Linked DNA regions of Homo sapiens: regions 1, 3, 4 and 5 are each linked to region 2. The links are contacts of gene promoters, found by promoter capture Hi-C in blood cells and fetal thymus (Javierre and others, 2016). All regions are on one chromosome and are shown on one strand. Each heading gives the region's core, a stretch centred on a gene start or on the middle of the fragment in contact. The rest is flanking DNA. Distances are from core to core; before and after follow the strand shown. Region 1 overlaps MAPRE2 (microtubule associated protein RP/EB family member 2). Region 2 holds the start of ZNF24 (zinc finger protein 24). Region 3 has its middle 79 kb from the start of MAPRE2. Region 4 overlaps MAPRE2 (microtubule associated protein RP/EB family member 2). Region 5 overlaps GALNT1 (polypeptide N-acetylgalactosaminyltransferase 1).

Evidence for each region. The method cuts DNA at HindIII sites, captures the fragments that hold promoters and counts their contacts. A CHiCAGO score of 5 or more calls a contact.
Region 1: a contact is called between a fragment that was not itself captured here and the fragment with the promoter of ZNF24 in region 2, in 1 of 17 cell types (total B cells). The highest score is 6.7, in total B cells.
Region 3: a fragment that was not itself captured here is called in contact with the fragment with the promoter of ZNF24 in region 2 in 1 of 17 cell types (non-activated CD4 T cells); the score reaches 6.5 in non-activated CD4 T cells.
Region 4: a fragment that was not itself captured here is called in contact with the fragment with the promoter of ZNF24 in region 2 in 1 of 17 cell types (non-activated CD4 T cells); the score reaches 5.5 in non-activated CD4 T cells.
Region 5: a fragment that was not itself captured here is called in contact with the fragment with the promoter of ZNF24 in region 2 in 1 of 17 cell types (total B cells); the score reaches 5.6 in total B cells.

What each region holds. Positions count from the first base shown.
Region 1 is chr18:35,064,946-35,070,017 of GRCh38, forward strand. The region is part of intron 1 of MAPRE2 (microtubule associated protein RP/EB family member 2); the gene reads left to right. Among named protein-coding and RNA genes, the nearest start is that of MAPRE2, 26 kb to the left of the region's middle. The HindIII fragment of the contact is 761 bases long and covers 2,739-3,499 here.
Region 2 is chr18:35,341,321-35,346,930 of GRCh38, forward strand. ZNF24 (zinc finger protein 24) reads right to left here and starts at 3,100. Exons shown (of 4, transcript NM_006965.4): 1 at 3,040-3,100. LOC124904283 (a long non-coding RNA gene) reads left to right here and starts at 2,734. Exons shown (of 2, transcript XR_007066337.1): 1 at 2,734-3,419; 2 at 5,108-5,610. RefSeq lists an enhancer at 2,418-2,477 and a silencer at 3,158-3,327. The HindIII fragment of the contact is 2,541 bases long and covers 894-3,434 here.
Region 3 is chr18:34,959,887-34,964,913 of GRCh38, forward strand. No RefSeq gene overlaps it. Among named protein-coding and RNA genes, the nearest start is that of MAPRE2, 79 kb to the right of the region's middle. The HindIII fragment of the contact is 815 bases long and covers 2,916-3,730 here.
Region 4 is chr18:35,086,429-35,091,286 of GRCh38, forward strand. All of the region lies in intron 2 of MAPRE2 (microtubule associated protein RP/EB family member 2), which reads left to right. Among named protein-coding and RNA genes, the nearest start is that of MAPRE2, 47 kb to the left of the region's middle. The HindIII fragment of the contact is 833 bases long and covers 1,007-1,839 here.
Region 5 is chr18:35,611,855-35,617,325 of GRCh38, forward strand. The region is part of intron 1 of GALNT1 (polypeptide N-acetylgalactosaminyltransferase 1); the gene reads left to right. Among named protein-coding and RNA genes, the nearest start is that of MIR3975, 23 kb to the left of the region's middle. The HindIII fragment of the contact is 5,434 bases long and covers 580-5,471 here.

The DNA.
Region 1 (5,072 bases), core at 1,869-4,368, 280 kb before region 2:
TCTGAAGGGATTTTTGTTTTTTCTGTGTGTTTTTCTCTCTTCTGTTTGCAAAACAAAACAAAAAACCAGCTGGGTGTGGTGGCTCACGCCTGTAATCCCAGCACTTTGGGAGGCCAAGGTGGGCAGATGGCCTGAGGTCAGGAGTTCCAGACCAGTCTGGCCAACATGGTGAAACCCTGTCTGTACTAAAAATACCAAAAAAATTAGCTGGGCGTGGTGGCATGTGCCTGCAATCCCAGCTATTTGGGAGGCTGAAGCAGGGGAATTGCTTGAACCAGGGAGGTAGACGTTGCAGTGAGCCAAGATCGCGCTGCTGCACTCCAGCCTGGGCGACAGAGTAGGACTCTGTCTCAAAAAAAAAAAAACAAAAAGTGTATTCCCACCTTCCAAGAAAGCTATTCTAATATTCATGTAAAAAGTGTGTAACTATATTGTGATTATTAGTTTATTTTCAAGTAGGGGCAATAAATGCAAATTTGTTTTAAAATAAAATTTAAATACAATATTAAAGTGTGGTGACCCAGGGACTGCAGTGCTAGGAAAGTGTTCCTCCCTTATCTCCTGCTTGTTGTGCTGTTGCACTGACCAGATCTTTATTTTTATTTATTTATCTTTTTTATTTTTTTTTGAGACGGAGTTTCACTGTCACCCAGGCTGGAGTGCAGTGGCCCAATCTCAACTCACTGCAACCTCTGCCTACCGGGTTCAAGCGATTCTCCTGCCTCAGCCTCCCTAGTAGCTGGGACTACAGGCGCATGCCACCAAACCTGGCTAATTTTTGTATTTTTAGTAGAGACAGGATTTCGCCATGTTGGCCAGGCTGGTCTCGAACTCCGGACCTCAGGTGATCCACCCGCCTCGGCCTCCCAAAGTGCTGGGATTACAGGCATGAGCCACCGCGCCTGGCCTGCACTGACCAGGTCTTAAACAACACAGTGATCTGGTTGAGATTCCAATTGAAAGCCACAAAGTGGGAGACAGCGCTTTGACTTTCTCCTTTGCAAGGATGGGACAGAGAGATGCTCATGTCCCAGAGGCCATGTGGCAAGTCACCTAAGAATAAACTGTTGTTTCCATGTAAAAGACATGCTGAAGATCCAAACATGAGAATAAACCCCGCACAGTGAGTTGCTCCTTGTTCTGTAATAGTTAGTATGACCTTACCTTTCATAACCATTTATCTTTCTTGACTGAGTCTTTGGGAAGTACTCCATGAATTAAAAATTAGCTTTTTGAATTGTATAATTCCTACCTTCCATAGGATGTTGATGTAATTGGTAATATCCCTAAGGACTAGCAGTCGTGAATTGAAGTTTGTGTCCACTTTTGTAAGGGAAGAGTATGATTCCTGCCCTGCTTTCCTCCCAGGATTCTTCCAAGGGTCAATAGAACCACTTTATCTCTAAAAAGATATAAAATTTCCTTGTGTTATCCACACAGCATTTCTGCAGACTAGGTAGGGACAAGTACTTTTACCTTTATATTGTCATATAGATTGAGACCCCAGAAATCATAATGAAATCTTAGGATTTTAGAATGTATCCACCTAGGGACTAGGACAATTTAATACTCTCTCACCTGAGTTTAACATTTGGAAAAAATATATAAATGTTCTGTGAATGTTGTAGCCACTTGTATCATTTAAGTTTAACTATATGGAAAGCATACCTGTAGAAAAAGCAGGAGCTGAAAGAATTGGGAAAACAAAAGGGTGGATGGCAGTGCAGGAATAGAATCCTTTTTCCACTTTGGCTGACACTTCACTTGCGGGAGGTTCAGGACAGTTCCCCTTCCAGGGAAAGTGAGTCCAGACTCAGAACTCTCAGGCCTAAAATCGGAAAAGCTGGCTTGTTTGGGTTCGGGGCAAACATTGGGAGCAAAGACAGCCACAGAGTGAAGTGCGCTTAGAAGTACCTTGCTGAAATTTGGAAAGAGGAAGATCGATTATAAGAATATTCCCATCAGCAGGGGTGTTAAATAGAAATTAACTATATTGATTTCATTGTTATTAATTTGAAGTAGGTATTGAAGTCTACTCATTTAATGTGTTGTTATTTTATTTTAGGAAATGGTGAAAAATTTCTTGCCTTCATTGGTTCACTTATTCTTAATCTGTCTTCTAAACTAGTTATCCCACAGGTCCCTTAACACATGGTAGCCCCTGCCACAGGGCTTGTGAGGACTACAGCTGTGTTGGCTAGCAATGGTGGAGATTTGAGTGGTATGCCTGGTAACTAAGTACCCAGAATTTTTCTAAAGCCCAGATCTGGTGCTGTTTTCATTGTTTACCTGATCATCTTAATGAACTGCTTGAAGGCAGATAGTGCCTTGACTTACCTTTGTGAGCTGAATGTCTGTTTACATTATGAAAGGACAATTGTTGTCCTTAAGTGAATGTTATCAGCAAAGACCTGGAGGAAAGTGTGATTTATTGACAAACTGCAGCAAATGACCTGCTTCCTTGTTTATATGGATTTTTAAAAAGCTGTCATTACTCTTCTACCTGTACTTCTGTTGTATATTAATTTCTCTTATGTAACCACAGAACGTTTTTACTCACTTGTGTATGGGTTATTTTTCTAAAACACAGATCTGTTTGTGTCTTTTCTGCTTTGCATTTAGATTTTTTTTAAATCATCTTGATTAAAAATTTCATCTCAATTTGGTTTGGTGCCATCTAGCATAACCCTGGGCCTCGACACCACATCCTCCATCAGTACATTGCCCGGTAATGCAGAAGCTTTCCATTACTGCCTGAAGAAGAAACCGCTAGAAAAGCCCATCAGCTGCCAAAAGTTATGCCAGTATATGATCATTTCATCAGTCCAAAATATTTTAAATTTTGAATTATTTACCCTTACTAAGATTATACATAATTTACATAGATGATTTTAAAAATTGACTACATTTAAAAAGCAAATGGTTTCGTTTAATAAATGATAGACTAAAGAAAACAGTGGAAGTTATTAACCAAAAAGTAAAAAACCTTCAATAATGGTGTACAAAGCAGTAATTATGGTCACACTATCTGAGATTCCTATGCTGTGAGATTTTTCAGATCCTTACGAGAAGACAATTTAGAGATAAGGGTGCTTCTGGGAATGGAGTGATAGATATTTATTTTTACATTTATTTCTAAATGAAACCTTCATTTAGCACTTTAAAGTAGAAAACAGATTTTTATTGCTTTCATGAGCATAAATAGGAACTCCAAACACAACTATTTCATAAAATGTAGATTTTTGTCTAAAACCTATATACTATAGATTTTGCTATTATATCTAGTCATGTTTAAAAATATTACTTCTATATCTGTAAATACCATTTTTCACTAAAAGGAATCAGGAGCGCTTGGAGAAATTACTGGTTTTAGGTCTGAGGCAAGAAATATACAAGTTGGCCTTGGAACATCTCGTCATATTGGAAAAGAAGAAGGTTATCAAAGACCACTAAGACTGTGTCAAAAGAACTTAGAGGCTAGCTTGAATAAGCTCTTGCAAGCTTTTATCAATAAAGGTATAATTTCAATGGATTGAAACATATCAAATATGTTTAAGTCCATGGATTCATAATTATACTTCAAAATATAAGAACAAAAACTTCATTGGTCATGTTTGGAGAATATTAGGGAACTACTCATCACTTTGAAAACTGGCAAATAGAGAAAAAGAGTTAGGCACCTCTCCTGCCTTTCCTCGATGACCTGTATCTCAGGGTACCTCAGGGGGAAACTTCTCTTTGTAGAATTATTCCAGCTAATAAATCAAGAATGAATAATAGAATATTTGAAGTTTTAGTGAATTATTGGATCTAGGCAAATATCAGAGCTAACAATATCATGGAAGCAGGCAGTCAGAGGTAATAGTTATCTGCCTTCTGATGGAAGTTCAAACACGGCGTGAAATAGTCTGTTTGATGCAATTGTCATATACTGGCATAACCTTTGGCAGCTGATGGGCTGTTCTATTGGTTTCTTCTTCAGGCAGTAATGGAAAGCTTTTGCATTACCAGGCAGTGTATTGATGGAGGATTAGGTGTCAAAGCCCAGAGTTGTGCTAGATGGCATCAAATCCCCGTCCCATTAGAACTTGAATAAGATCAAGGCTCTAGATGGAATTATCAGTCTGTAGGGATGCAGAGGACAGCGGAACATGTTAAACCACAGCAGTGTGATACAATGAGAAAAATCCAGAATGTGGAAACTATCAGACAACCTAGTTCCTTCAACAACAACTTTTTTTTTAATTGCAAGGAAAGATTAGAAATAGAGAAGAAACTTTATAAAGAAATTTAAAGAATGTATCAAAGAATCATAATGTATGAACCTTATATGAATCCAGATTCAAGCAATCTGAAGTTAAATTTGTATTATAATATATTGAAATGCATATTTGATATAAGTAATTATTTTCATTTTTAGGTGTGATAATATTCTGTTTTTTTTAAAAATTATTTTTCAGAGACACACTGAAACACTTATAGGTGAAATTATGTGATTATTGGCACTTACTCCAAAATAATCTGGCTTGGTAGGCTAGGATGGGATTGACACAAGGGGAGTTGATAGGAGTATAAATCAAACAAGATGGTCAAGTATTGATAATTCTTGAATCCAAGGGGTAAACCTAACTGGTTTGTTATTCTCTTCTCTCTCCTTTTGCATGTATTTGAAAGTTTCCAAAATAGAAGTTAATACATAGCTACAATATATACATAAACATACATATACAATATATCAATATATATATATTCCACAAACTAGGTAAAATTGCAAAGTTTCATCCAGGTTTAAATATTAAAAAAAGAATCCTTTATCACTGCACACCTACTAGAATGGCCAAACCCCAAAACACTAACGTTTCCAAGTCTTTGTAGTGAGTACTGAAATAATGTATGAAACTAACAGATTACTCTGGTGTATACTGCTACAAACCTGGTAACTTTTTAATATCACACGTAGACTTACAGTCAAAAGGGAGACTCTAAATTGTGTTATAAATTAGGAATCTCAGAACCTGAGGAACATTTGGATTTAGTTGGAGAGATATAAAATGGTACTGCATGAAAAATAT
Region 2 (5,610 bases), core at 1,850-4,349:
TACTCACATGTTTGTGGTGATGCTGGTGTAAACAAACCTGCTGTGTTGCCAGTTTAACACATACAGTTATGTATGGTACATAAAACTTGATAACAATAATAAACGACTATGTTACTGGTTTATGTATTTACTATACTTTTTATACTATATTATTTTAGAGTGTGCTCCTTCTACTTACTAAATAAAAAAGTTAACTGCAAAATGGCCTCAGGCAGGTCCTTCAGGAGGTATTACAGAAGGCACTGTTATTATGGAGATGACAGCTCCATGTATGTTACTGCTCCTGAAAACCTTCCAGTGGGACAAGATATGGAGGTAGAAGGCAATGATACTGATAATCCAGACCCTGTGTAAGCCTAAGCTAATGTGTTTATCTTAGCTTTTAACAAAAACAGTTCCAAAAGAAAAAAAAAATTGGCCAGGTGCAATGGTTCACACCTGTAATCCCAGCACTATAGGAGGCTGAGGCAGGAGGATCACTAAAGACCAGGAGTTCAAGGCTCCACTGAGCTATGATCACACCACTGCATTCCAGCCTGGGCAACAGAGTATGACCCTGTCTCTAAAAAATGAATTTAAAAATAGCAAAAAGCTGTGCCGGGCACGGTGGCTCAGGCCTGTAATCCCAGCACTTTGGGAGGCTGAGGCAGGCAGATCACGAGGTCAAGAGATCAAGACCATCCTGGCCAACATGGTGAAACCCTGTCTCTACTAAAAATACAAAAATTAGCTGGGCGTGGTGGATTGCGCCTGTAGTCCCAGCTACTGGGGAGATTGAGGCAGGAGAATCTCTTGAACCCGCGAGGTGGAGGCTGCAGTGAGCCAAGATCGCGCCACTGCACTCTAGCCTGGCGACAGAGCGAGACTCTGTCTATAAAAAAAAAAAAGCAAAAAGCTTACAGAATAAGGATATAAATATATTTGTACAGCTGTACAATGTGTTTGTATTTTAAGTGAAGTGTTATCACAAAAGAGTAAAAAAGTTAAAAAAAAATGTAAAAGTTTGTAAGTGAAAAAGTTCCAGTAAGCTAAGGTTAATTATTGAAGAAAAATGTTTTCTTAATAAATTTAGTGTAGCCTAAGTGTTCAGTGTTTATATGGTCTATAGGAATGTACAATAATGTCCCAGGCCTCCAAATTCACCACTCACTCACTGACTTCTTAGAGCAACTTCCAATCCAGCGAGGTCCATTCATGGTAAGTGCCCTGTACAGGCATATCTTTTTTTTTTTTCAAACATTTTATATCATATTTTACTCTTATCTTTTCTATGTTTTGATACACAAATAGTTAGCATTGTGTTACAATTCTCTACAGTATTCAGTACAGCAACATGCCGTACCGGTTTGTAGCCTAGGCGCAATAGGCTATACCAGATAGCCTAAGTGTGTAGTAGGCTACGCCATTTAGGTTTGTGCAAGTACATTCTATGACGTTCACACAAGGATGAAATAGCCTAACATATTTCTCAGACCATAGCACTATCGTTGAGTTATGCATGACCTTATTTACTATATGGCCGCTTACAGAAAAAGTTTGCCAATCATGACCTACTAAGACGACAAACCCTATGTCAATAATCAAAAGAATCCAAGTAAGAACCAGACTACTTCAGTGCTTTCTAAATGTGCCTGACCCTGGAACGCATTATTTCCAATTCAGGATTGGTGTTTCCTGACACACACAAGTCAACTCAAAAGGAAGGTTCGCTTTATTATTATGTGCTTAAAAAAATTTTCTTTACCATTTAAAAAATATTTTTAAGGTGTTTAAGAACTCCTTGGACTTATATGTGAAAAAATGTTCACTTGCTGAGTAGCAGATCACATAATATTGAAAAGATCATATGTGAAAAACATCACATAATTTTGAAAAATTATCTTGCACATAATACGTAAATATTCAGTCTTCCACCACACCATACGTACATTTATATTTATAATGATAGGCATTAATCACAGAAACTTCTATTAAGAAAAGGCACTCGCATAAGCACCTTGACTTCCTGCAGTGGTCCAGTGTCTTGTCCTTACACTGGAGGACTCACAGTTTCCCCAGCTTCTACCTTCAGTGAAACTGTATACTGCTTCTGGACCTTTATTATTTGCACGATCATGCCCGTGCTGTTGTTTACGACACATACTAGCAATGAGCCATTCAGCCTATTTATTTATTCAGGGCCCAAAATCTGAACAATAACAACTTAAAAAAACTTATTGTAACCCAAGCAAGATGAAGACTAGAATCAGAAAAGGCCTTATCAGACAAGTAATACATACTGGTTTAATTAAATACCCTGGAGTGTGGTGGCCTTATACATAAGGTCTAGCCAACATTCATTCGTTCCTATTCCAAGACCCTGCTTATCAACGGTGCAAGTATTTCTACATAATTTTCTCTTCCTTTTATGCTGTAGAGCATACCGCTTGTGGGAAATGGAGGGAAGGCCCACGGTCCCGACAATGTTTGGGCAGGGTACCTCGTCCCAGGTGGATCGCCCACCTTACTGCTGCATAGACCTGCTGTGTATCCCGGCCCCGGCCCCGGCCCCGGCCCGACGTCCTCTAGCCCCTCTTCCCAGCACTCAGGACCGCGGATTTCAGATGACCAAAGGCCACCCTGTGACAACAGCGTCGGAACCACGGCACTTCCGCCTGCGGCCGGTGAGACTACAAATCCCAGAAGCCCCGCGCAAGTCTCGTCCCACTACCACCCCCTCCCATCACGACTCCCAGAACCCTCCGCGAGACGCCAGGGCCTCGAAATAGAACAAAACCGGCCGGTGGGGGAGGGGGAAGGTGAGGGTCTCGGAGGACACAGGGGGTTAGAGAGCTCTCTGCAAATGCCGAAGACCCAAGCAGGCCTGCCGCCTACCCCTCCCCGCCCCACAACTGCTAGGCGCGGAGACCGCGGCCTGTTCCCCGCGCCTCCCGGGAAGCTGAGGAAGGTCCCGGACAGGCTTCCCCGCCGGCTCCTGCTAAGAGGTCCGCAGACCCTAGCCCGGTGTCCCCCCTCCCTCTCATAACGTTCCCCGCACACCGGCGCAAACCTCCGGCTCAGGAACCGCAGCAGCTTCGCTGTCCACGGCAGACGCAGAAACGCCGTTCACAAGCCTTTTCCCAGAAGCCCCCGGCGCGGGCTGCTTCCGGTCTGCGGGCCTGAGGAGGCGGGGAGAGGTAAAGCCCACGTTGCCATGGAGAAGCGCCCCGGGCGGGGGAGGGGCGGCCCCACGACAATGACCGCATTGAGGCTGCGCTTGGCCTCGCGCCTCTCCTCGAACAGCCCAGCGTCCTCTGGACCGTTTAAAAGAAAACATAAAGAGGACTCTACCATTAAGATAGTCCTTACAATTTCGCAAGCCCTTTCACGTGCATTATCTTGTGGATCCTCTCAGTAATCCCCTGCAAGAAGGAATGAAAGTGAGTGTTTGTGAAAGCTTACTACATTGTGCCAGGCGCTCTCGTCGTGCTTTACATGTCATTTTTTTTTCCACAAATAAATGATGTAGGAACTTTCATTATCCCCATTTCACAGCTGAGATAGTTGAGGCACAAATACAGTAAATAACCTGACAAGAGCTCACAACTCATTTGTGGGTAGCAAGATTTGAAACCAAGACGTGATTCAAATCTTTGGCTCCCACTAGTTATGTCATGGAGCTTTATTCCGACCTATTTATCTGTCAGGAAAACTAGATAAGACAGGTTAAGAGTTTTGGCAGTGATGTCACGGTGAATTTGTAGAATGCATGGTCATCTTAAAGCTGGGCATTTTATACCATAAAACAACTGCTGACGCGATCATTTAAAATTACAAATCAGACCACTTCACTCCCCTATTTAAAGCCCTCCAATTTATGTCATAATAATTTATGACATAAAAACTCCTTATAATGGCCTGTAAGTCCCCTGTGGTCTGTTGCCTGCCCGCACCCCCAGACCCTGGCGCCCCCAGTCACCTCAGCTCCTCGGCTCATTGTGGCCCAAGATCCTCAGCCTCACCACCTGCCTTTCATGGCGCATGACCCTTCATGGCACTGTTATTAATGGAAGTGATCTCATTTATTTACTTGTTTTATTTTTTGTTTTGTTTTGTCTTTAAGTCCCTTAAGGGCAGGGACCTTGTCTGTCTTGCTCACCACAGTATCCCATCCTAGATCCTGGAAGCTGACTGCCTGGTAAATAGAGAACTCAATAAATATTTGTTGAATAAATAAATGAATTGTGGGATGGTTACATTGCTGCCTTTAGCTAGGTCACATGATTGGCATCAGACACCACACAAAGGAGCCCTGTTGTTTAAGGACTGGTCAAAAGTGTAGATCCAGCCTAACATAAGCATTTCAAGATCCTCAGGCTTTGACTTTTTGCCTCATTGGAGAAAATGCCCTCTGAAAAGTGCCGTCAGGCTCCGCTGGATTCGTGCATGAGAGAGCAAGTGAGCGAGCAGCTGATGGTATACCACTGCTTTTCATTCCGACCAGAGCTCTTCTCACAACCCCTGCTAACACTTCTCTCCATTGCAGGAAGCTTCAGAAGTACAGCCTTTTCACTCTGCTACTTGGATACGGCCCCTAAGCAACTTGGCTGCTCTTCCCAACCTTTCCCTCTTATCTGATTTGTAAAGGCTAGCTGAAGGCATTTTTGTTTTAAGAGTTTTTACATCTAATTAATGTTGGAAAACAAAAATAATAAATCTGAAACCTAACCTTGAGGAAGTTAAAAATGTTGCAAAATTTTACAAAACCCTTTTCCTGTGATTATATTGTTTGTTTTGTTTTTGAGACAGGGTCTTGCTCTGTCACCCAGGCTGTAGGGCAATGGTGCAGTCTTGGCTCACTGCAGCTTCAACCTCCCAGACTCAGTGATCCTCCCGCCTCAGCCTCCTAACTGGGCATTTTATACCATAAAACAGCTGTTGATGCAATCATTTAAAATTACAAATCAAACCACTTCATTCTCCTATTTAAAGGCCTCCATTTTATGCTGTAATAATTTATCTTGAAATGCTTATGGAAGGCTGGACTTACACTTTTGATAAGTCCTTAAACAACAGGTGTGCTCCACCATGCCCAGCTAATTTGTTTGTTTGTTTGTTTGTTTTTCAGAGATGAGTTCTTCCTATGTTTCCCAGGCTGCTCTCCAACTCCTGGGCACAAGTGACCCTCCTGCCTTGGCCTCCTAAATTGCTAGGATTGCAGGCATGAGCCACCGTGCCTGGCCTCCATTCTATTATTATTAATTATTTGTAAACTACTAAATGGAAACCACAGTAAGGTTTTCCTCACTAAGTTACTCCTTTGAGGGCAGGGGCTACTAACACCCGCTTTGAAACACCATCCTTCTGAGGTCCTCTGGGATTTTTTCCTGAATGGTGGCCCTTGTTGCCATCTTAAAGATCTAGTCAAGATAAAACATGTTCCTCTGGACAACCTGAATGGAGGGAGCAGCTTCATACCCGGGCCTGACAACCTTGCACATATCCACATAGGCCACATAGGCAATGCCTGAACCACAGCTGATCTGAGTCTTGGCAGAACACCTTGGGATCTTCCCAGAAGATGAGTGCATGAGAGGCTTGTAAGCAGCTAGTGCAAGGCCATTTCCCACT
Region 3 (5,027 bases), core at 2,073-4,572, 380 kb before region 2:
ATTAGGTGGACTCTTTTTTTTTGTATGAACTTCCTAGAAGGTTACAGGGCATTGCCCAAGTAAATAAAACAAGAAGCCCATCTGTGTAAATCAAATTCAACTATTACCAATTTTTCTAGGTAGTACTGAATAGTAATAGTTGAATTTGATTTACATAAATGGGCTTCTCAAAGAAAATAAGTAAAATGCTTACTTTTTAAAATGCTGATTACTTTTCAAAGTCATAAATCAGTCAAAAGTTGAAAGACCAAAACCTTCCATCTCTCTAGTTCACTGCCACTCTTTTACATAAAATGGAAGCAGCGGAAAAACTCCTCTTCTGTCCTACCCCAAACCAAAACCCAAACCCTACGGCTGCCAAACTCACCTGGAATCCCAGTACTACCCGGAAATCCTGTGGCTTTAACTTAAAAATTCCCATGTCATGCTTTCAAGCTCCAAACCTGATCCTACTTCTTAACTTTCAGAAGATAAGCCCACTTATTTCACCGAGGAAATAAAAGCCATCCTTTATCTCTTCCCACAAAGCCATCTAACTAACACATCTTTAGTACCTACTATGTAGTAGCCAGGTAGTATGCTAGAAAAAAGCTATGCCTGAGAGAAAAATAAGATGTAGTCTCTGCATTCAAGAAATGCATCGCCTGATAAAGAGGAGGATGTAGAAAATAATTAAAACAAAATATAATAAGTGTAGCTGAATGACTTGGGACAGTAATTCACAAAATGTGTAGCGCTCTTATAATAGCAAGTATAAGTAAAAGATGTAGTTACCCGAGATTTTTCCCTGAATTCATTCTAACTACTAGCTATCTCCTAATTTATGATTTTTTTGGTCCATCATCTGTAATTCCTGCCTAATCTAGTTTAAAACAAATAAGTGAAAGATGTGAATCATTAAGAACAAAGAAGAAAAAGTAAATCACTATTATTTATAATATGAAATTCCAATTCTGAGTTAATATTTAAAATGTTACTGTATATCTTTTTAAAGGTAAAACTTTTGAAATTTTCTCTTTCTCATGTGAGTGTGGTTAAAAGGATGAACAGAAAAATACACAGAAACATTTAAAAGAAAGATAGATCTGAAACAACAACATATTTTAATTATTAACTGATTTACTTCCTACCACCCTGTACTTCCTGGCATCCCCAGATCCTTTCCTTTTTTTAAGAAAACAAAACAAAACAAAACAAAAAACACTTCTTCCAAAAGAAAAAAAAAAGAAAGCAAAAAAACCCAGTAGTATTGTGGTTACCTATTGATGCACTCAAAAACCACCCCAAAATTCAATGTCCTAAAATAGCAACCATTTTATAACTTCTCACTATTCTGTGGGTTGACTGAGCTCAACTGGAGGGTTCTTCTGCTCCACATGATATTGGCTAGGGGTACACTCTTTCTGGACTCAATTGGATTAGAACATCCAAGGTGGCTATTTACATGTCTGGTGCTTTGGTGAGGATGACTGGCAGGCCAGGCTCAGTTGGGACACCAGTATATCAGGAGGTCTCTCTCTCACTCATATTGTATAGCCATCACAAAAAATATATTGAGCCCCTTCTCTATATCAGGCACTGCTCTAGGCATTAGCAATACAGTGGTAATCAAGAAAGAAAATCTCTTTGCTTTCATGAATTTAACTTTTAGCATGGGAAAAAAATAATAAATAAATAAATAATAATTTTTAATAGCTACAAGTACTCTGAAGAAAATTCAACAGGTAATGTGATGAAAAATGAGGGAGAGGCATTTAACAAGTGTTTGTTGAATGAATAAGCAAACATTTAGTTTCTCTCTCAGAGACATAGAACCATTATCAAACTAAATAAAAATGAGAAAATGATTGTGTTAACATTTTGCTTAAATTAACATATTAAATTTAGATCACGTGTTTCAAAGTGAATTCTGTGCTAACATAAATTCTATGTTAATCACGGAACAGAGGATATGATTTATTTTATTTGCCACTGATAAATTTTATCACAGATACTGATAGATTCTGTCACAGCACTAACATTACTCATAGCTCATAGAATTGCAGAAGTAATTTTTTGTACACTGTTACTGTTCATACAATTTTTATTATGATATAAAAGACTATCATAGACATAGTTAGCCAATTCTGGTCAAAGATACACATTCCAAACCATTTTAAAATTGAAATTAATCCAATAAATTATAATAGCATTGAAGATTTTAGTTCCTGAAATAGTTTATTGTTGAGTGTTTACGGTATAACATGAGTTATCACAAAATAAATAGGATCTTTTAAAAATTAGTGAATCACAATGGCCTCGGTTCTCCAGTGATATTTTAATGGCAGAATATGTACGTGAACAGAAAGACAGTCATGAATTGATGACCATAACCTTGAACCAGGGTTCAAAAACTTTAAAACTGTGTTCTATCTTTGCTAATGACACAGGTCATAACTTCACGCAATAAAACTTCATTCATCAGCCCTTTCTTTCCAGTCCATTGGAAGTCCTGTCTCTACACCAACTACTCTGTGACAGAAAGTCTCTTGAATACTAAAGGGATCATAATACCGTGCCTAACTCACAAAAATGTTACAGAATCTAGTTATATAATAGATTGAAAAGTGTTTTAACACCATATGCACATGTGCATAATATGATCTTACTATTTAATGCTCATGTATGTGAGAGCTTGAAGTGGCATGACTGAGGAAGTTGATTTTGAAGCCATTTGAAACAAAAAGTCATATAAAACAATATAGTAAACTGAAAAGAAAATAGATACTAAAAATTATGTACTGCTAGGCCATTTCAAGCAGTGATCTACAGTCTTTGAAAGGAAAACATTTGCTCTCATTTTAATAGCAATAATAAAGTGTTCTGTGTCAGCCTAGCTTATGTTAGCCTTAGCAGTACAGCAAAGCCAAGTTCTAAGCTTCTGATTTCTTCTTGGACCAATCCAGAAATGTGGGGTCATCCAGGTCGCTATATGGTGCCAGTAGTATATGCCATATCCTTCCAGGTGTCCTGGGCATTGGCATTCCATCTTTCTTAAAAAATACTTTGATCAAGTCTAAAACATTATTGTTTTTCATCAAGTCTAAAGCATCATTGAATATGACAATCAACGTATTATTATTATACATAATAGACGTATATAATTTCAGAGTATGTGATAATACATTCATATAATTTGTAAAGATCAAATCAGTGTAATTGGGATGTCCATCATCTTAAATATTTGTCTTTTCTCTATGCTAGAAACATTCAAATTATTCTTTCAACTATCTTCAAATATACAATAGATTATTGTAAAGTATAGTCACCCTACTCATCTATCAAACAGTAGGTCTTATTTAATCTATCAAACTGTACCCATCAATCAACTTCTTTTCATTTCCTCCTCTCCCCTACTCTTCCTGGCCTCTGGTAACCACCAATCTATTCTCTATCTTCATGAGATCTACTTTTTTTCTTCTATATATGAGTGAGAACATGTAATATTTATCTTTCTGTGCCTCGCAACATTACTTTTTAATGTATCCTATGAAAGAAAGTTCTATTAAATTATGACATGCCATGGATTGTATAATACATGCCAATTTCAAGGATTTTAAAAGGTAAAAAAAAGTTTGTCTTAGAATCAATGAATATAATAATTATTTTGTTAGCATAAAAGTAATGTATATTTGTTAAAAACCTGAAAAATACTGAGTATTAGCTGAAATATGGTTGCAGGTAACAGAAAAGCTTGATTATGTAAGAAAAATGTGTGTAACTGAAAATCCAGAGGAAGAACAGAGGGTAGAGTTGATTTAATTCAGGAACTAATGGCTATCACAACAGCAGTTTCTTTCCATCTCCCTGCTATGTCTCCCATTGTGTCAGCCTTCTTGAGACAAGCTTCTTTCGTGGTATCTGTTCCAGGTTTCCCATCTGCACCCCCTACACTACAATGGAGACAGAAATTCTATCCTAGCATTCTAAGTAAAAAATCTTTTTTTTTTTTTTTTTTTGAGATGAAGTCACACTCTTGTCCCTAGGCTGGAGTGCAATGGTGCAATCTTGGCTCACTGCAACCTCTGCCTCCCCGATTCAAGTGATTCTCCTGCCTCAGCCTCCTGAGTAGCTGGGATTACAGGAACCTGCCACCACTCCCGGCTAATTTTTGTATTTTTAGCAGAGATGGAGTTTCACCATGTTGGCCAGGCTGGTCTCAAACTCCTGACCTCAGGCGATTCACCCGCCTCGGCCTCCCAAAGTGTTGGGATTACAGGCGTGAGCCACTGCACCCGGCCTCTAAGTAAAAATTGTAATATTCATCTGCTAAGGTCATCTAAGTCATCTCAGTTCACCTGAATTGTAACCGTTTTTAGGAAAGTGAAAATGTACATGAAATGTATAGGGACCGAACAGGGAAAACTGAAAAATTTTCTTATTACTAAAAAAAAAGAATGTAAAAATGAATGCTTGAAAAGTGTGATGGTTAATTTTACTAGTCAACTTGGCTAGGCAGTGGTGCCCAGTTGTTTGGCGTCAGCACCACAGGCCAAACACACACACACACACACATACACACAACTACATATACAAAGAGAGAGACTGATTTATTTTTGACACACAAAAGCCAATAAAAATGTCTACTAAAACTTTGGGAGGCCAAGGCAGGTGGATCACCTGAGGTCAGGAGTTCGAGACCAGCCTGGCCAACATGGCAAAACCCTGTCTCTACAAAAATACAAAAATTATCTGGGCGTGATGGTGCGTGCCTGTAGTCCCAGCTACTCGGGAGGCTGAGGCAGGAGAATCGCTTGAACCCAGGAGGTGGGGGTTGCGGTAAGCCGAGATCGTGAGATTGTGACACTGCACTCCAGCCTGGGAGACACAGTAAGCTTCCGTAAAAAAAAAAAAAAAAAGGGAAAAGTATAAAAAGAAAAAAATAGAAATCCCCTATAATCAGGAATATCACCATTTTAAAATGTTTTATTCAACTTTATCTATTTACTTACTTTTACATGTATGAAAACATATGGGAACTTACTTTA
Region 4 (4,858 bases), core at 173-2,672, 260 kb before region 2:
GGAGCAGATTAATGATCTATCAAGCCCAAGATTCTACTATAAATAGAAAAGGTATAGCTGATACTTCTAACACCAGTCCAAACGATTTATATGTTCTCTTGCATTTTCCTTTATATTTCCTTTTAGAATTATCTATAAAAATCTATAAAAATTTCTAAAACTTAATCTATAAAAATTTCCAAACACTCTTTGAACCTTTCAATTTTTACATATAATTTCCTAAAAGCAGCATAGAAAAAAGGAATGTTTTTCTTAAAAAAAAAAAATTGAAGTTCAGATCAGAGTTTAAATTCCACTCTGCAATTTCTTAGCTGGGTGACTTTCTGAGCCTTGTTCCCATACCTGTAAAATATGGGAATGATAATAAAAATACTTACCTCTTAAGGATACTATGGGATTCAGAATGTTTAAAATACATATGAAAACGCTAACAGATTTTACCCAAATGTGGGTGTTTTTATGTCTTATGTTTCTTGCGTAATATATTCCATAAATTTGTTATTAGAGTAATATTTCCTTTTATCTGAAAATTTCCACTTTAAAAATGTCCATTTATTCTGATATTACTCTATGGTTGAAATCCTGGGATCTGGTGAAAATGAAATTGTCTTAGGCTTTTCATGATTTTATAGACTTAAATCATACACTCCTGAATCCTTTGAGTATGAATGTTCATTTTTGAGCTCTGCCATCTTCATACAGCCTCCCAGCTGTTCATTTTTTATTCCTGTCCTCACACTTGTCAGCTTCATTATGTCAATTTTGATGTATAACAACTGAAACCAATCTTAGGGCTGCAGGGGTACAGACAGTGTAGAAAGAATAGTTTTTTCCCCCCTACTTATTTCCAGATCATTTCAGAATCTTGTAGACCTTCACAATTGCAGCAGCACCTTGAGCTTATGGGCTCAGAGTATATCCCATCATAATTAACCTCTTAGTAGGCACAGCATCCTACAATTTGGGTTGTGTTACTTGAATGTGTTACCCTATGCTTAGCTTTTAAAGCTTATCTTTTACTTTTCTGCAGACTTGGTCTCTAGGGTCATTCTTATATTTGAGTGGCTTTAAAAAATTTTATTTATACCTCGTCAATTCTTAAAAGAATTTTTAGCAACTCTTCTCATAATATCTCTTTGGGGAGTTTGGCAACATAAGAATTTTACTGTTTACCAGCCCTTGTTGTGGTTCAACTGCTATGCAGATCTTCATTCATTAGCCAGATATTTATTGAAACCCACTTATGCCAGGTACTGTATTAAATGTTTAGATACATAGGGGACCAAGACAAATAAGGCACAAGTATTCTTGAAACTTATATTGCAGCGAGGGAAAAAATAAGCCACAAACTCTCTTAGTCTGTTTTATGCTGCTATAACAGAATACTTCAAACTGGGTAATTTATAATGAACAGTTATTTATTGTCTTCCTCTTCTGGAGGCTAAGAAGTCCAAGATCAGGGAACCAGCATCTGGCAAAGGTCTTCATGCTGCGTCATTCCATGGCAGAAATGCAAGAGACAATAGGGGAGAGAACAAGAGCCAAATTTGCCCTTTTATAACGAATTGCTTTCCCAAGAATGGCATTCATCCATTTCAGGAGGGCTGAACCCTCATGGACTGCTTACCTCTTAGTGGTCCTACCTCTTAATTACCATCACAATGGCAAATAAATTTCAACATGCATTTTGGAGGGGATATCCAAACCATAGCACCAACATAAGAGTTAATACAATGCCAACATAAGAGTTAATAAAACAGGATGAGGTGAAAAAGAGTGCTTAGAAGGCTACTTCATGTGGCATAGTAAGGGAGGACCTCTCTGAGGAGATGACATATAAGCTTTCATCTGAATGTCAAGAAGGTCACCATGTGAAGTTCTAGATGAAACTGTGTAAAGGTCCTAATTCAGGAGCAAATCTGAAGTGTTCTAGGAACAGCAAGGAAGCCAGCATGAAGGGAGCTTCCTAAAAGGAAGTTAGACAAGGGAGAAATAGACAGAGGCCTGATAACAGGGTATTTTAAGCCAGGGAAGGAATTTGGATTTTATGATAGTTTCATAGAAAACCACTGTGATATTCTTAGCAGGAGAGGGATGTGATCTGAATAAGGGTAACCGTGGCATAATGAGATAAAATTGTGTTTATTCAAAATGTACCTCACATTATTGCAAGGGTAGTTAAATGGCACAAAAGTCTGTGTATCTGTTGATGAGGAACATTCTGATTTGTGGCTGGGTAAGACTTCCAGGACACTGGCAATGATTCCTGAATATTTCAGTTTGTTGACATCTATTTTTATCTGATTAAAGAAGAAAATATAGAATTTCAAGAGCAAAAGAGGTGGTCAATAAGGCCAAATACTATTAAGAGGTTGAGTAGGATGCAGAAAGAAAAACAACTGTTTGATTTGATAGCAGAGAAGCTTTTGATGACCTTGACCAGAACATGGTGAGGTTGGAAGACAATTGAATTTGTATTAAATTGAATTGGATGTCAGATGAAACAATGAAAACAGAGACCATTTGAAGTTTTACTGTGAAGAGGAGGAGATAGTACATAGCTCAAGGATGATGTGGGATCAAGAAACTTTGGTTTTATTTTGTCAAAGTTGAATGATACTGGAGCATATTTGCAGGATTTAGGAATAACATATGCAGGAAGAATTTTGCATTGCAGGAGAGAATGAGGATAGCAGCAGGAATGACTCAGTGAGTAAGAGGAGACGTGACCCAGAGCACAAGTAGAGAGTTGAACTTTGATAGGAACTATGCAGTTTCTCAAAGAACGTGAGGTATAAATCGTCATGACCTTGGATTATGCAGTGGTTTTTGGTTATAACAACAAAAGCACAAGTGACAAAAGAATGAATAGCTAAATTGGATTTTATTGAAATATAAAACATTTTTGCTTCAAATGATACCATCAAGAAAGTGAAAAAACAGTCCACAGAATGGGAGAAAATATTTACAAATCATATATCTGATAAGGAAATTATATCTAGAATATAGAAAGGATTCTTACAATTCAACAATAAAAAAGCAACCCATTTAAGAAACAAGCAAAGAATGTGCATAGACATTCCTCCAAAGAAGACATACAAATGGCCTAAAAAGCACAAGGAAAAGATGCTCTAAGTCATTAGTCATAGGGAAATCAAAGCAAAACCACAGTGACATACCACTTCACATCCATTAGGATGGTTAGAATCAAAACGACAGACAAGTGGTGATGAAGATGTGGAGCCCTCATCTGTTGCTGGTAGAAATATAAAATAGTACACCTGCTTTGGAAAACAGTGTGATAGTTTTTCAAATTGTTAAACAGAGTTACCACATGACCCAGCAATTCCAATCCTAGGTATACTGCCAAGAGAATTGAAAACATGTCCATGAAAAAACTTGTACACAACTGTTTGTAGCATCATTACTCAAAATAGTCCAAACATAAAAGCAATCTAGATGTTCATTAATGAATGGATCAGTAAAATGTGGTAATTCATAAAATGGAATATTATTTGCTGTAAAGAAAAAAAATGAAGTTCTGATACATGGAACAACATGGATAAACCTTGAGAAGAGTTTGCTGAGTGAAAGAAACCAGACACAAAGGCCACATGTTATATGATTCTATTTATATGAATTGTCCAGAATAGTCAGATCCATAGAGACAGAAAATAGATTAGTGGTTGCCAGGGCCTGGAGGGAGGAGAGATCATAGAGAGCGACTGCTAATGAGTAAGAAGGGTTTTTTTTTGGCAGTAATAAATATATGCTGGAATTAAATAGTGGCAATGGATGAACAATTCTGTGAGTATGTTAAAAACCACTGAATTTTACATTTCAAAAGGTTGAACTTTAGGGTATATGAATTATATCCTAGCTTTACTAGGATAAGATCTGGAACAAGACAAGGATGTCCATTTTAACCACTTCTATTCAACATTGTTCTGGAAGTCCTAGCCAGAGTAATTAGACAGGAGAAAGGAATGAAAGGCATCCAAATTAGAAAGGAGGAACTCAGGGCCGGGCATGGTGGCTCACGCGTGTAATCCCAGCACTTTGGGAGTCCAAGGCAGGAAGATCACCTGAGGTCAGGAGTTTGAGACCAGCCTGGCCAACATGGTGAAACCCTGTCTCCACTAAAAATACAAAAATGAGCCAGTTGTGGTGGTGGGTGCCTGTAGTCCCAGCTACTCAGGAGGCTGAGGCAGAAGAATCGCTTCAGCTTGGGAGGCAGAGGTTGCAGTGAGCCAAGATTGCGCCACTGCACTCCAGCCTGGGAGACAGAGCAAGATTCGGTCTCAAAAAAAAAAAAAAAGAAAAAGAAAAAGAAAAAAAATAGGAGGAAGTCAAATTGTTTGCAGACAGCATGATTATGTATTTATATCCCTAAAAACTCAATTTTAAAAAACTGTTAGAACTAATAAACAAATTTTGTTGCAGGATACAAAATCAGCGTAACAAAAGTCAGCAGCGTTTCTGTATGCTGATACCAAACTATCTGAAAAATTAAGGAAGCAATCCCACTTATAATCACTACCAAAAAAATGAGACACCTAAGAATAAACTTAGCGAAGGAGCTGAAAGATTTCTACAATGGAAACATATAAAACATTGATGAAAGAAATTGAAGAGGACATAAATAAATGGAAAGCCATGCCATGTTTATGGATTGGAAAAATCAATATTGTTAAAAAGTCCATACAGGTTAAGTATCTCTAATCCAAAAATCATAATGCTTCAAGATCTGAAATTGTTTTAGTTCTGACATACCACAAGTGAAAAATCCACACCTAATCTCATGTGACAGTTCACAGGCAAAACACATTCAAACTTGTTTTATGCACAAAATTATTAA
Region 5 (5,471 bases), core at 2,047-4,546, 270 kb after region 2:
AATCTTTTTTGTCTTGAAAAAAGGATCCTGACAAAAGTTTCCCACAAAGCTTCTGTTTTTACACAAAAATCCTGTCTCTAAATTTGTAGGCCTTGCCCTTTGGGAGTTTTATCTGACAGGCAATATAAAGTGTCCTCATTACCATCATTATTTATTACCTGTATCATTAAAAAAGACATCATTTATTATATGTAATTATATCACAGTGTTTATATAAAATATGAGCTCTAGCTTTGTTGTCTACATTTTAAGAGAAGGAAAAATTGAGAGATAAAGGGAAAAGTAATGAAAATAATTATAAGGCTGCAAAATACTGTCTTAGGTTTGGATTTAAATATTTTTAAGATGTGATTTAATAACTTCACACATGATTCTTATGAAAAGAGAAAAAACCTGTTTTAATGAGTTAAAAATAGGGTACATCTCCATGAAAGATAGAAGGAGATATAATTGGACAATTTGCCTTCTGGATTAGGTTTAAAATTCAAAAGAACTGCCTAATAGTGATACTAATTAAATTCTAATTATCTTTAGAAATGTGAAAGATAAGTCTGCTAATTTAACCATTTTTTCAGTAAAAGCTTCACTCTAAGCCTATCGTGTTTATTTTTATATTTGTTTAATTTTTTTGAACAAATAGCATCATAAATTTTTTAGCATTTCCAATTAATATTAAAGTGTGCCCCAATTTCTTTGAAGTAGATGGAGTCATGTAGTATTAACCTTTCTAGGCCGGGCGTGGTGCTCACGCCTGTAATCCCAGCACTTTGGGAGGCCAAGGCATGGATCACCAGATGTCAGGCATTCAAGACCAGCCTGGCCAACGTGATGAAACTCTGTCTTTGCTAAAAATACAAAAAATTAGCTGGGCATGGTGGCAGGTGCCTGTAATCCCAGCTCCTCGAGAGGCTGAGGCAGGAGAATTGCTTGAACCCAGGAGGTGGAGGTTGCAGTGAGCTAATATCGCACCATTGCACTCCAGCCTGGGCAACAAGAATGAAACTCTGTCTCAAAAAAAAAAAAATCCGTAGGCAGCTCTCCATCATACCTCACACCAGGAGAGGAGGAAAGTACCCATAGTTTCTTAAAATTTTATGTTTAAAAAAATTAATCAGTGGTATGTTATAGGGAAGTAAGAAATGTTTTAGTAATAGCTACCTTGTTTAAGATCGCAGCTCCTCTCCACCAGGCACTCATGGTCCTCCCTACCTGACTACTCAATTTTTCTTTCTTTCCATTGCAATACCTTCTGTGCTATAATCTAGTTTACTTATGTTTATTATTTCCTGTCTCCTACTCTGCTCCTACAGAAGTGCTTTGAATGCATTGATCTTTGTTTAGTTTACTGATACGTACTGAGTGCCTAGAATATATTTGTTAATTCAATGAATTGCTTTTCCTTTGGCTTCTAGAAGTGGATGTACATTTCTTTTGGGGAAAAATACTCAGCAGACTATTCAAAACTTTAAGAGGCTTCTGTTTCTGGCAGCGTGGCAGAGTAGAGGTTAAAAAAAAGGTCCCACATTATGAAATGTTAAAAATACTGGACTTAATATTCAAAATATCTTTTAAATGCATCGTTGAGCTGACAAGAGGTAAGGAAACTTTCCAGAGGCCCAGAACAAGAAATCTTGAATCCAGGGAGGTAAGTTAGTAGTGATACTGGCTCCCGTGCTGAGGGTTCTGGTATTTGTAAGTCCTTCAAAACCCAGAACTTTGGCTTTTGCAGGGTGGCCATAGGGTACCAGACGGTGTCTAGGGATCAAGCAGTTGCTAAGTAAGATCCAGAGACCTTTGTGTAAAGCTGAAGCTCCCTGAAAGCTGTCAGTGGGTTTAACTAGGAAAAAGCAAAAAACCTATCCCTCAGTGGTTGGAAAAGTATAGGGTAGGGAGCATAGGAACAAGGTTGCCTGTTTCAGCTTTTCACTGGAAGGGTAAAATAACCTTCCCCGAAAAATTATAACTGCAGTTCCACTCTAACTGGATTTGGGGTTGAAGTTCATACTACCTTAATGGTGGGGGAAAAAAAAACAACCAAGCCAAGAATTTAGTGAAAAGTAGTCTCAGTCTCAGGACTGAGAATCAAATGAAATCCTCACTGGAGAAATACAGGAACACAGGCCTCAGAGAATTGACACAGGTAAAGTTTCTTCCTAGAAATGCATTCACAATTTAAAAAACCAAAAACACTTTATATAAACCATGAGTTAATCAGCAGAGCAAGGAGACCGTGTAATCAGGCATTCAAACATTGCAGATATTGTAGTTGTCAGATATGTAATATAAGATAAATGCTTAATATGTTTAGAGAGTATAAAATACGGCTAAAGAGCAAAAGACTATCAAAAATAATTAGGCAAGTTGAATTCAGCAGTGTATAAAGGAAATACTGGATATTGAACAAAGGGTTTATTCCAGGAAGGCGAGCTTGGTTCTGCATTAGAAGGACTATTAATGTAATTATCGACACAAGCAGTTTAAAGTTAAAAAAACCATATCATCCTAAAATATACAGAAAAAGAATTTATTAAAATTCATCTCTCTTTTATGGTAAAAACTCATAACAAACTAAGAACAGAAGGGAAATTCTGTAACCTGACAAAGGGCATCTGTGAAAAACCTACAGCAAACATAGTATTTGATAGAGAAACATTAATGGTATTCCTTTGAAAAACAGCAGCGATATAAAGATGCCCACTGTTACCCTGCCTCTTCACAATTGCACTGGAGATATGAGTTAGTGCAGTAAAGCAACAAAGAGCTACAGGGCTATGAGGAATGAACAGAATGGTCATTCCTTAGAGTGAATATAAGTACCTTCATAGAAAATTCAGGAGTTTATTAAGTTGCGAATATATGATTGATATAGTAAAATTTAAGGACTAACATCCAGAATCTGCAAGGAATGCCAATTAATCAACAAGAAGATCATTATGGTAAAGTCAGTTCTATTACTCTAAACTAGCAGCATACAATAATAAATGTAATAAAAATATTTCTCAATAGTAAAAAAAATAAAAAGCCACCTAGGAATAAATAGAAAAAGAGAGGGCAAGATCTTTAAATAGAAAGGTATAGAAATATATCGAAGGACATTAAGAAGACCTAAATAAATGTGACGACATACCATGTTCATAGAAAGAAGGTTTCCTATAAACGTATCAATTAATCTGTCTTTAATATATGAATTTATTGCTATTAAAAAAAACACCCAGCAGGGTATGGTTTTGTTTGTTTTTGTGGAATTTGACCAGTTAATTCTAAAATTTATTTGGAAATACAAAGGGTCAAGAATGGCTAAGACATTCCTGAAGCAAGTACTTGTCTTACAAGATTTTAAGATAGTGTAAAACTTTAATCATTGAGATGGCATAATATTTGGACAAGCATAGACAAATAGATAATGGAAGGAAGTTAAGGCAAAAACCAGAACTCTAAGTACGTGGAAAGCTAATACATGACAGAGCTAATGTTACAAATCAAGGAAATGGAATACGTTTTAAATGGTTGGGATTCTTAGCCACATTTTAAAAAATGGTTTTTACTAACACTGTATTAAAAAAAGCAATTTCAGATGGATTAAAGACTAGATTGTGAAAGGCAAAACTTAAGCCTCCAGAATAAAATATTAGAGAGTATTTTAGACCTCAGGCTTTGGAAGCCAAAAGCACAATTGTTGAAGGAAAAGGTTTATTAATTTGGCTGTACTAAAATTAAGATCTCTTGGGTTTTGTGTGCATGGAAAGGAGAGTGTAAAGACTAGTCACAAATACACAAGTAGAATATATTTTGCATACAAAGGATAAGGATTTTTAGAATCAGTAATGCACACACCCATATGTCAGTACGCATACATACGTAAGTGTGAAAACAGTTAATGGCAGAAGAAAGCAAGAGCTGTTTCTTAGGAGAAAAATGAATAGCCAGTAAACAGTTGTTTTCAGGGAAATACAAATTAAAGCTACATTGACAAAATTGTAAAAGTTGGACATTGTCAAGTATACCACTGCACTACTCCATGGCAGAGGTTGGCAGACTTTTCTGTAAAGGGCCAGATAGTAAGTATTTTAGCCTTTGCAGGCCGTACAGTCTCTGTAAAGGCCAACAACTTTGACGTTGTAGTGCAAAAGCAGCTGTAAACCATATATAAATGAATGAGAGTGGCTGCATTCCCATAAAATTTTATTTACAAAAATACTAGTTTGCCACCCCTTGCTCTATGACACCAAAGTTAGTGAACTACATCAATATGGATGAGTCTTAAAAACGTAATGTTGGATTTAAAAGGTAGCAGAAGAATACATTATAATATGATTTAATTTATGTAAATTGCAGAGGTAGACAAGGTAAAGGATACAGGTTTGTGGGTTTCATCATAGTTGCTGGGACCTGACTAATTTTGAATTCTGGCCTTGACATGTATAGTCTATGTGACGCTGGCCAAATTACCTAACTTTTTAAAGTGTCAGTTTTCCTATCTGTAAGATGGTGTGCATAATAGTACCTGGCTTACTGGGTTGTTGGGAGTATTGTTATACAGTGCCCATCAAAGTGCTCAGCACACAGTAAGTGCTTGGTAATTGTTGTTATGCTTTTATTCTCCTGTTTAATTTATATCTCTATTAAAAGAAATATAGCTGTTATTGCTTTGGACACTGGGTGTTTTTTTTATCTGACCTGCATTGCATATGGCTAATGAGAAGTACTAAGGCTTGCATATCCTCACCTGAAGTCTTGAGTAATGTTTGATTCCTTTTGCTTAGCACAGGTTGTAAAACCTTCTAGTGTTTTAGTGTTGTGTTTTAATCTCCACATTCATGGTAGCTTGCTGAATACTTGGCAGAAACAGCTTCCAGTGTCACGTAATCTTTCTCTGTGGCAGTTAGCATCGTCTCAGACTCCTTTTTCAGAGCTCTCTCCTCCTTTGTATTGGCACCACTCTTCAAATTCTGTGACTTCTCAGACCTTCCAGTCCTCTAGTATGGTCCACCCCTCAAACTTCTGACTCTTCAGCTTCCTCAGCTGAAAATGAAGATAAAACCCACTTGAAAGGGTTGTTATTAGGATAAAATTCTCTCTCTAATGCCTAAGCCACTGAGGAACCCTGTAACCATAGATCCTGACTCATTTATGCCAGAGTGAGGTGTGGTATGAAAACAAACAAAACTTTATGAGTAGTTCCTTCCCCATTTGAGCAGCAGTGACGGGTGAATGTAATGCAAGCGGCGCATTGCAGGCATTCAGACAGCTCCCCCCTCCATTTCCTGTCTGTGGCTACTGTTCTCTAGACTCTTCTCTCACACCACCAAGAATCATTTATTACAGGTATTTATATTGACCATTTCCTCCCTAAGGACAGTGATGTTGTCTAACTCATCTTTGTTCTCATATGGTCTGGTAAAATGCTTGGCATATAGTAGGGCAGTTAACAAATTTGTTAAGTGAACAAATGTCTACTATATGCCTTGCTT